2 separate regions of the Homo sapiens genome follow, and region 1 is linked to region 2. The links are contacts of gene promoters, found by promoter capture Hi-C in blood cells and fetal thymus (Javierre and others, 2016). All regions are on one chromosome and are shown on one strand. The core of a region is centred on a gene start or on the middle of the fragment in contact, and the rest is flanking DNA. Distances in the headings are between cores, read along the strand shown.

Region 1 (4,759 bases), core at 1,221-3,720, 1.2 Mb before region 2:
CCGGAACAAACGTGAGGTCTGGAGGGTCAAATTTACCCTGGCCAAGATCCGCAAGGCCGCCCGGGAACTGCTGACGCTTGATGAGAAGGACCCACGGCGTCTGTTCGAAGGTGCGTATGGGAGTCCACAGCAGAGGGATGGGGTGCAGGGCTTGTGAGGTTCATTCTCCCTTCTGTTGCCTCTGTTCCAGTGATGAGAGTTGTGTCATTGGATAAATGGAACCAGCCTTCTAACTTTTAGTGGCACTTGTGGAGTAGGAAAAGTGTATCTGGATCAGTCTTTGCCCTGTTTCTTAGGTGTGTGGCTTTTTTGCCCAGTTATTGGACCTTCAGTTTAGTAATGACCAGAGCTAAAGATAGGCCTGGCACACCTGGGCACCCGTCTATATCTTTATATTCTGTTTATGTGGCCTGTTTGCTAGTGGATGAGAGTAGACTATGAAGTGGAATTTCTGGGCTAAGTGATGGTGATAACAGGGTTTGCACATTTGCTTGGTTTATTGTTTTTTTAATTAAGTTTTCTCGTTTTATTTAGTCTTTTGAGACGGAGTCTTGCTCTGTTGCCCAGGCTGGAGTGCCGTGGCGCCATTTCGGCTTACTGCAACCCCCGCCTCCTGGGTTCAAACAATTCTCCTATCTTAGCCTCCCAAGTAGCTGGGACTACAGACAGGCGCACGCCACCACACCTGGCTAATTTTACTTTTGAGACGGAGTCTCGCTCCATTGCCCATGCTGGAGTGTAGTTGTCGCAATCTTGGCTCACTGCAAACTCCGCCTCCAGAGTTCAAGCGATTCTCCTGTCTTAGCCTCCTAAGTAGCTGGAATCACAGGCATGGGCCACCAAGCCTGGCTAATTTTCTATTATTAGTGGAGATGGGTTTTCACCATGTTGTCCAGGCTGGTGCTTGTTTTTTTAAGCTGGTCAAGGACATTTAGGTGGTATTTAGCAAAGGCCTGAACAGGAGAGAACCTGTAAAATGTCTCAGGGAACAGCATTTCAGGTGATGACTTTAGGAGGGCATGCAGATCACATAGACTTAGGCTTACTTTACTAATTGTGGTGAAATACACATTAAATTGAAAATGTACCATCTTAACCATCTTGTTTTAAAATCTACTCTGAGATGCGGTGTTATTGGAGTGCTTTCTACAGCAGATTGGCATGACCAAGATTGGCATTTGTATATCCTGAGACGCTGCTTTTGCCTGAGTTTGGGTAGTCATGATTTATGGTGAAAAGCAGTCTCTACACCTGAGCCCTGACTGTTAGGCATGAGAGTGGTCATCCATGTTAGGCGTTGAGAAAGTCCTGGCGCATGTTTAGCTACAGATTATCACAGTTTGTCCCAGGCTTGCAGATGTTAGAAGCTTTTTCTTTAAATAGGCACAGGATCTTGCAGTGTTGACCAGGATGGTTTCCAACTCCTAACCTCAAGTGATCCATCCACCTCAGCTTTCCAAAGTGCTGGGGTTACAGGTGTAAGCCACCGCACCTGACCCTTTCATTCTTTTCGTCAATTTGTAGACCCCGTTGATAATCTCATGAAAGTGCTGGAGATCCCTCCCCCATAGATACTGATGCTGGGTGGGAATTCATCCCAGGGTTCTGTGGGGAGTGGGCTATAGCTGGTTCTGGTTTTAGGGAGGACTTTCTGGACATAGATCCTAATTGCAATGAAACTTACAGTCATGTGAGAAAGCGGTGCAGGTGTCTGAGGGTTATTTGTGGTTTTCCAAGGCAGAAGTGAAAATTCCCAAGGGGTACACAGTTGTTCAGGTGAGTACACTTTCTAGTAAATGAAGCCATCTAGCCTAGTCAGGGACAGGAAGGAGGAGCTTGGATGTTTGCTCTTTGGTGTAATCCTGCCTTGATTCAGATCCTGCCTTTCCCACTAAGATGTGTGACTAGCGAGATTCTGAGTCTCGTCTGTTAAGACTGAACAGCCGCCAACATTTGGCTGGCAGTTAATAATCAACAGATAGAGGCCAGGCGTGGTGGCTCATGCCTGTAATCCCAGCACTTTGGGAGACCGAGGTGGTCGGATCACTTGAGGTCAGGAGACCTCAAGTCAGAGACCAGCCTGGCCAACGTGGTGAAATTCCATCTCTACGAAAAATACAAAAATTAGCCGAGCATGGTGGTGTGCCTATAATCCCAGCTACTCGGGAGGCTGAGGCAGGAGAATTGATTGAACCTGGGAGACAGAGACTGCAGTGAGCCGAGATCCGCGGCACTGCACTGGGTGACAGCGAGACACAAAACAACACGAACTCCCCCCCCACCCCCCAGCACAACTGTGAAGAAATGTAGGAGTCATGTCCATTTTTCAGATCAGAAATGAAGGCATTGTAATACCTAACTGCCTTGTATGATGACAAGGACCTGTTTCCCACTGAGGTCCTCCCTGGTTTGCATTTTTAAAGCATTTTAAATTCTCTTGGTGCATTGGCCCAGTGGAGCCTCAGCAGTAGGACATGCTTTTGTTGAAGGTGTAAGGTTTATTGTGCTGTTGAAAACTATTGTCTTCATACTTAAAGGTTTTGCCTGTGGCTGACTCTCCTGTTCTTTTTCAGGAGATAGATGGTTCAATAAATGTGGGCCTGAGTGCAGTGGCTCATGCCTGTAATCCCAGCACTTTGGGAGGCAGAGGCAGGCGGATCACCCGAGGTCGGGAGTTTGAGACTAGCCTGACCAAAGTGGAGAAACCCCTTAGTCTCTACTGAAAAAATACAAAATTAGCGGGGCGTGGTGGCGCATGCCTTTAATCCCAGGCTGAGGCAGGAGAATCCCAGGAGGCGGAGTTTGCAGTGAGCCGAGATCACGCCATTGCACTCCAGCCTGGGCAACGAGAGCGAAACTCTGTCTCAAAAATGATAATAAATGTGAAACATTTTTTTAAAATCATGCCTTTGTTTTGCCTAATGGTGACGATCTCACTTTGTCTCCCGGGCTGGAGCACAGTGGCATGGTCGTGGCTCACTGCAGCCTGGACCTCCTGTGCTTAAGTGATCCTCCTCAGCTCTAGTAGCTGGGACCACAATCCACCATGTACCACCATGCCCGGCTAATTTAGTTTTACTTTTTTGTTTGTTTTGGTACAAATGCGGTCTCACTGTGTTGCCGAGGCTAGTTTCAAACTTCTGGACTCAACTGATCCTCCTGCCTCAGCCTCCCAAAATATTGGGTTTATAGGCCAGGCATAAGGGACTGTGCGTGGCTTAAGTTTCCATTTTCTAATGTAAAGACAAAAAGGCGTGAAGTGTCCAAAGAGGTAAATGGTCCCAAACTCATTTTCATTGCCTTTTGGACATGTTTTTGTATTTTGATATTCAGGTGTTTAAATATCCTCTGATGTTGAGTTAAAAAAGAACAAAAATTGAAGCCATAGTATGACATAGGATGCTGGAAATGCACACAGCTGGTGTTTCCATTTTGATTCTCCCTACCTGTAACTGCTCCCTACTGGGAAAACTTTGGGTCCTCACAAAGTGAGCTAGCTTTCTTTCAAACTTTGCTTGGAGGGTAACAGTGCCAGGAATATCAGAAGTGCCTGATGCATGTAGATCTATTTATGAAAGCTTGCTTGAATGGTTTGCTGTAACTAGTAAGAGCCACTTTTTATAAAAGTGCACATAAGGAAAAAAGGTTGAGGTGTTTACCCCAGTCAAGGGGCAGTTGATTTGCTGAAGGCGTGTGGGATTATAGCAGTGAGCGGGAGCCTAGGGGATGGCGTTTGCCCCCAGGGCCCTGGGGCTGTGGGCAAGGGCAGTCCAGAGTATTAGCTAGAAGCCATGGCTTTGGACAGGGTAAGGAGCAAGCCGTCCTGAGCCTGGGGTTGGAAGAAAGGTGTAGTAGGGCATCTGTTGGATATTTTATGCAGTGCATTGTTAGGTTATATACATACTAGATATATTTTTGGTGGAAAATTTTGTACAGAATAGTAAAATGAATGACATGTACCTAGCTGGAAAAATTCTAGTGTTAGAAATTACTTTTCTCTCCTTAAAAGATGTAGATACTGCTATTTATGGCACGGAATGTGATTCAATCTCACATCTGCTTAATCAGAAGAGCTGTCTGGGCTGAGGATATGAACTCTTCAGCACTGTGCTTTGTTACGGTGGTAGTAGCTTAATAGCAGCTGCATTTGGTCTTTTGCAGACTGAGTCCTTGTAAGGAGGTGATTTCCTTTACTCTTGCTAAGAATGTGGAGCGAGGGATGTATGCTCTCAGATGAGGAGGCAGGTGTATTTTGCCCTCCTGTCATCTGCAGTTTACTATGAATGATGACCTGACAACCATAGGGTAGTTTGGTTTTTTGTATTGTTTTGTTTTGTGACAGGGCCTCACTCTGTCGCCCAGGCTGGAGTGCAGTGGCCCCATCTCAGGTCACTGCAACCTCCGCCTCCTGGGTTCAAGCAGTTTTCCTTCCTCAGCCTCCTGAATAGCTGGGATTACAGGCAGTGCGCCAACGGCCTGGCTAATTTTTCGTAATCTTAGTGGAGACGGGCTTTCGCCATGTTGGCCGGGCTGGTCTCTCAAACTCCTGACCTCAAGTGATCCGTCTCGGACTCCCAAAGTGCTGGGATTACAGGTGTGAGCCACCACTCCCAGCCCGTAGGGTGGTTTTGACAGTGACATGGGTCACGGTGATGGCGCTGTACTACTTGTGCCTCACCGCCGCGGCATGGAGCTACCAAGAGGCGGAGCCAGGATTTGAACCCAAGAAGCCTGAGGTCAGAAGGCGGAATCAGTGTTT
Region 2 (4,671 bases), core at 2,172-4,671:
TGCTGGGATTACAGGCATGAGCCACTGTGCTCAGCCAGGATTTCCAAAGGTAACAGTAACTACAGGTGCTTATGTTTGCATTCTATGCCAAGCTTCATGTTAGCTTACGCTTCACCCGTGCAAGCAGATGTTCATGCTTTCTTACCCCAGTTCCTTCACTGAATCACGGCACGTAGCATATGATTGGGGTGACTATTTCCCCAAATCTCACAAAGAATAATATATAACTGGTAGCATTCTGGATGCATAGGAGAAAAGTTAATTCCAGCCGGGCACGGTGGTTCACGCCTGTAATCCCAGCACTTTGGGTGGCCGAGGTGGGCGGATCACCCGAGATCGGGAGTTTGAGACCAGCCTGACCAACATGGAGAAACCCCGTCTCTACTAAAAATACAAAATTAGCCAGGTGTGGGGGTGCATGCCTGTAATCCCAGCTACTCGGGAAGCTGAGGCAAGAGAATTGCTTGAACGCGGGAGGCAGAGGTTGCAGTGAGCCGAGATTGCGCCACTGCACTCCAGCCTGGACAACAAGAGTGTAACTCCATCTCAAAAAAAAAAAAAAAAAAAAAAAAAGTTAATTATTTACCTACATAGAACGTCCTAGGATAATAGGGTTTAATTCTTTTACCAAAACCCTATTTGAGAGATGAATTCAGTCACCCAACCATCCATGTGCCATTAAATGCATTCATCCACTCATCTGTGTACTTATCATTCAGCCCCAACCATCTATTCAACTACCCATTCACCCATCTACCTATCTATCCAGAGAGCGCACAGAGGCTGGGCAAACTCTGACTGTCCTATGGATAGTCCTATGGACCAGCCGAGGCCCCTGCCCCAAGGAGTTCCCAGGTGTAACCGCAAGTTAAGGTGCCCTGGGGAGGTGACACAGGCACCCTCATTTCTTTTGTTCAGTAGGAGTCTCTGAGGCCTCCCCAGTACCATGCTGCATGGGTGAGGCCGAGGACACAGAGAAGTATCAGGAAAAGCTCTTGCCCCTTTATCAGGCAGGGCTCCCTCTCCAACCATATCCATTCATGGTTCATTGCCCAATTCACCACCTACCCATATCTACCCATTAAACAACCCATCCATCCGTCAATCCAACCACATCCCTGCATCAACCAACCCATGTATTCACCCATCCACCCACCCACCCATCTGTCCATTCACCCGTCCATCCACCCATCCATCTACCCATCCACCTATCCAACCACCCACCCATCTATGCATTCACCCATCCATCCATCAAACAACTCATCCATCCACGCACCCATCGATCTACCCATCCACCCACCCACCCATCTATCAATCTATCATCCATTCACCCATGCATCCATCAACCAACTCATCCATCCATCCACCCATCCATCTACCCATCCACCCATCCAGCCATCCGTTCTTCCATCCATCCTTCCACTTCCCTACCCAACCATCAACCTTTCCTGATTTCACACTTTTTGCTGGGCAATGCTAGGAACAAGGACGCTAGGGACCTAGGTCTTACCCTCAAGGCACTCCCTGTCAGGTGGGAGAGACAGTAACAACATAGACACAGCACATGGCCATATAAGCAGCAAGAGGGGTCGCTCAGACAATATGAAGACCCAGAGAAGACCCAGAGAAATTAAGTTAAATCTTAAACATGTGAGAAGTTTTCTGGGTGGAGTGGAGACAGCCAAGGGCACTCCTGGTGTAGAGAAGAGCAGGAACAGGGACCAACTGGCTATCTGTGGACTAAGAGACACCATTAGTGCAGAGAGGCAGGAGAAATGGGGCCAAAATATGGGGGGTCCACAGGCCAGTGAGTGCTTCAGTTTAACCAAAGGTGAAGAGGGAGCCACAGCAGGTCTTTGAGCAGAGGCAGGCTAGCTGGAAAGGTGTGTTTAGGAAAGAGATAGAAGGTAGAGGGGAAAGGGGAGTGAATGTGTGGTGGCTTCATTTCTCCTGCTGTTGGTCCTTCTTACTCCTCCTTTTCTAGGCCTACAGGTCAGGAAAATCCCAGCTCCTCCTTTCCTAGGCCTACAGGTCAGGAGAATCCCAGCTCCTCTTTTCCTAGGCCTACAGGTCAGGAGAATCCCAGCTCCTCCACCTACGTGTTGTGTGGCCTTGGGCAAATGTGGCGCCTTTCTGCGCTTCAGTTTCCTCCACTGCAGAATGGGGATGGTAATAGTAGTGACCTTGGAGACCAGTTACATGGAGAGGATTAAATGGGGCCTGGTCTGGGCTCAGTGGCTCACGCCTGTAATCCCAGCACTTTGGGAGGCTGAGGAGAGCAAATCGCATGAGCTCAGGAGGTGGGGACCAACCTGGCCCACATGGCAAAACCCCGTCTCTACTAAATATACAAAAATTAGCCCGGCAAGGTGGGGCGCACATGTATTCTCAGCTACTTGGGAGGCTCAGGTGGGAGGACTGCTTGAGCCTAGGAGGTCGAGGCTGCTGTGAGCTGAGATCACGCCACTGCACTCCAGCCTGGGTGACAGTGAGAGATCCTGTCTCAAAACAACCCCAAACGACAACAAAACAAAACAAAACAAAAAATGGGGCCTGGTGTACCTGGAAGCTGGGGCTCTCCCCGTGCGGGGGGCCTAACTGTGTGACTCGACCCCCACACTTCCCATCTCCAGGGGCAGGGTCTCACAGCCTCCCCCACGTATGCACCTGTGCTTGCTGTGTCTGCGGTTCTCCGCCAGAGCCTTCCCGTCCCTGTCTCCACCCCGCCCTGGGACTCTACCTCCCCATGGCCGCTCTCTGTCTCCATCTGTCCATCGCTCCCCCGTCTGTCTCCATTCCCGTCCCTCCCTCGGTCCCTCCGTCTCCCCGCCCTGCCCCGCCCGCCCCTCACCTGGGCCTCACTCGCTGCCCGCGCCCGCCGCCCCGGGCCCGGCCTCGAGCGTGGCGAGCTGCAGGCGCACGCGGCGGGAGCCGGCGGCGGGCGGCGGGGGCGCGCGGGCGGCTCGGCGCGCTCTCCGGGAGCCGGGCGCGGGGCGCTGGCCCGCGGCGGCGGGCGCCGACCAGCGGCGGGAGAGCTTGCGCGCCAGGCGGGCGAGCGCCGAGGGCCGCAGGCCGTAGTCGCGCTCCAGCTCCTGGCGCGAGATCTCGATGTTGCCGGTGTACCAGAGGATCCAGCCCAGCAGGCTCAGGAACACCAGCAGCGCGCCCGAGTAGATGAGCAGGTCCCCGAAGTCGCGGCCGCGCACCTGCAGCTGCGCGAACACGCCGGTCAGCAGCGCCGCCATGCCCGCCACATCCAGCGCCACGGCCAGCAGCAGCGCCATCCGGCAGCGGCCCAGGCCGGCCGCGGGTGCTGGCGCGGCCGCCGGCGCGGACGGTGCACCCGGCGGGCTCCCCTGCGAGGCGCACACCGCTGGCGCCGCCGCCATGGCCCTGCACCGCCGCCGCTGGCGCCCAGAGAGAGCGTTCCGGGGTGCGGCCCGGTCCGGGGCGGGGTCAGGGGACGGCGCCAGGTGTGCCAAGCTCCCGCCTGGTCACCTGAACCGGGCTGGGCGCGAACCGGCGCGGCCGGGGTTACCCTGGTCGTGGTTTCCGTGCAGGGGCTATTGCTCAGAGGCCTGAGCTGGTGGTAGCCAGGCGCACAGCCACGGGTGCCTAGGGCCCGTGCCACCCAGGGAGGTCACATATGGCCAAAAATCAGGGCATTTTAGTGGTGGCAGCATGGGACACTCGGAGCCGGGCGTGGCGTTGTTTCTGCTCAGTGTCCGCCTCCCGAAGCCTGTGCAGATCAGACAGTGCAGATCAGACAAGGCCTTTAGACACCAAGGAGCTCTGGGACGCGAGAACCAGTAGTCGGGGTGATCTAAGAGGGGAAGCTCCGGGTTCCGCGGAAGCTGAGTTTCCTTCACTCAGCGCGTGTCTTCTGGGGTCTCCTGTGTTCAGCGAATGAAGCCACGGGCACAAGGACGGACGAGACCCATCAGGTCCAGAGCGCACCCGTGGAGGAAGCTGGGCGAACCCCGACTGTCCTATGGAGGATAGTCCTATGGACCAGACGAAGCCCCTGCCCCAAGGAGTGCCCGGGTGTAACCGCAAGTTAAGGAGCCCTGGGGAGGTGACACAGGCACCCTCATTCCTTTTGTTCAGTAGGAGTCTCTGAGGCCTCCCCAGCACCATGCCGCGTGGGTGAGGCCGAGGACACAGAGAAATATCAGGCAAGGCTCCTGCCCCCTTAGGGTGGCCCTGACAACGGATCATAACCTCCCAGGGAGCTGATGGGGTGTGACAGGCACACCATAGGCTGGAGGCACAGGTGGAGGGCAGGGAAGAGGACCGGCAAATCTATAGAATCCTAAAGGGAGCCAAGAGAAGCCACATGCAAATCTCCCTCCCTCCAAACAATTCTCCCTTAGAGGGCATCCGCGCTCCCCTGGGGTGGCAGTCAGCGAGAAGTTTCCGTGTAGGTTCTCCCCAGGCTTAAACAGTTTAAGAGTTTTATTTCAAGAAAACCCTGGGGAGGGCGAACTGCAAGAGGGCTGCCAGGATTAGCCGAGGGATTCCGAATGAAGACGGAGTATTTCCGAACATACACACCTCTCCCAAGAGCGTTTCCGGAGGGTTCCGAAAATACCCGAGCGGGCCTCGGCGCCCTCATTGGCCATCACCGCGAGGGCTTACGAAGACCGGAAATATCCAAAGGTGCCGGGGCTA

Evidence for each region. The method cuts DNA at HindIII sites, captures the fragments that hold promoters and counts their contacts. A CHiCAGO score of 5 or more calls a contact.
Region 1: a fragment that was not itself captured here is called in contact with the fragment with the promoter of TMEM238 in region 2 in 1 of 17 cell types (non-activated CD4 T cells); the score reaches 5.8 in non-activated CD4 T cells.

What each region holds. Positions count from the first base shown.
Region 1 is chr19:54,201,500-54,206,258 of GRCh38, forward strand. RPS9 (ribosomal protein S9) reads left to right here. Exons shown (of 5, transcript NM_001013.4): 3 at 1-110. Among named protein-coding and RNA genes, the nearest start is that of RPS9, 3.0 kb to the left of the region's middle. RefSeq lists an enhancer at 4,327-4,759. The HindIII fragment of the contact is 2,211 bases long and covers 1,366-3,576 here.
Region 2 is chr19:55,380,871-55,385,541 of GRCh38, forward strand. It overlaps TMEM238 (transmembrane protein 238), which reads right to left and starts at 3,422. Exons shown (of 2, transcript NM_001190764.2): 1 at 2,852-3,422. The coding sequence starts at 3,389. The coding sequence ends at 2,859. RefSeq lists silencers at 2,928-3,017, 3,308-3,647 and enhancers at 3,022-3,984, 3,938-4,007, 4,038-4,107. The HindIII fragment of the contact is 6,498 bases long and covers 91-4,671 here.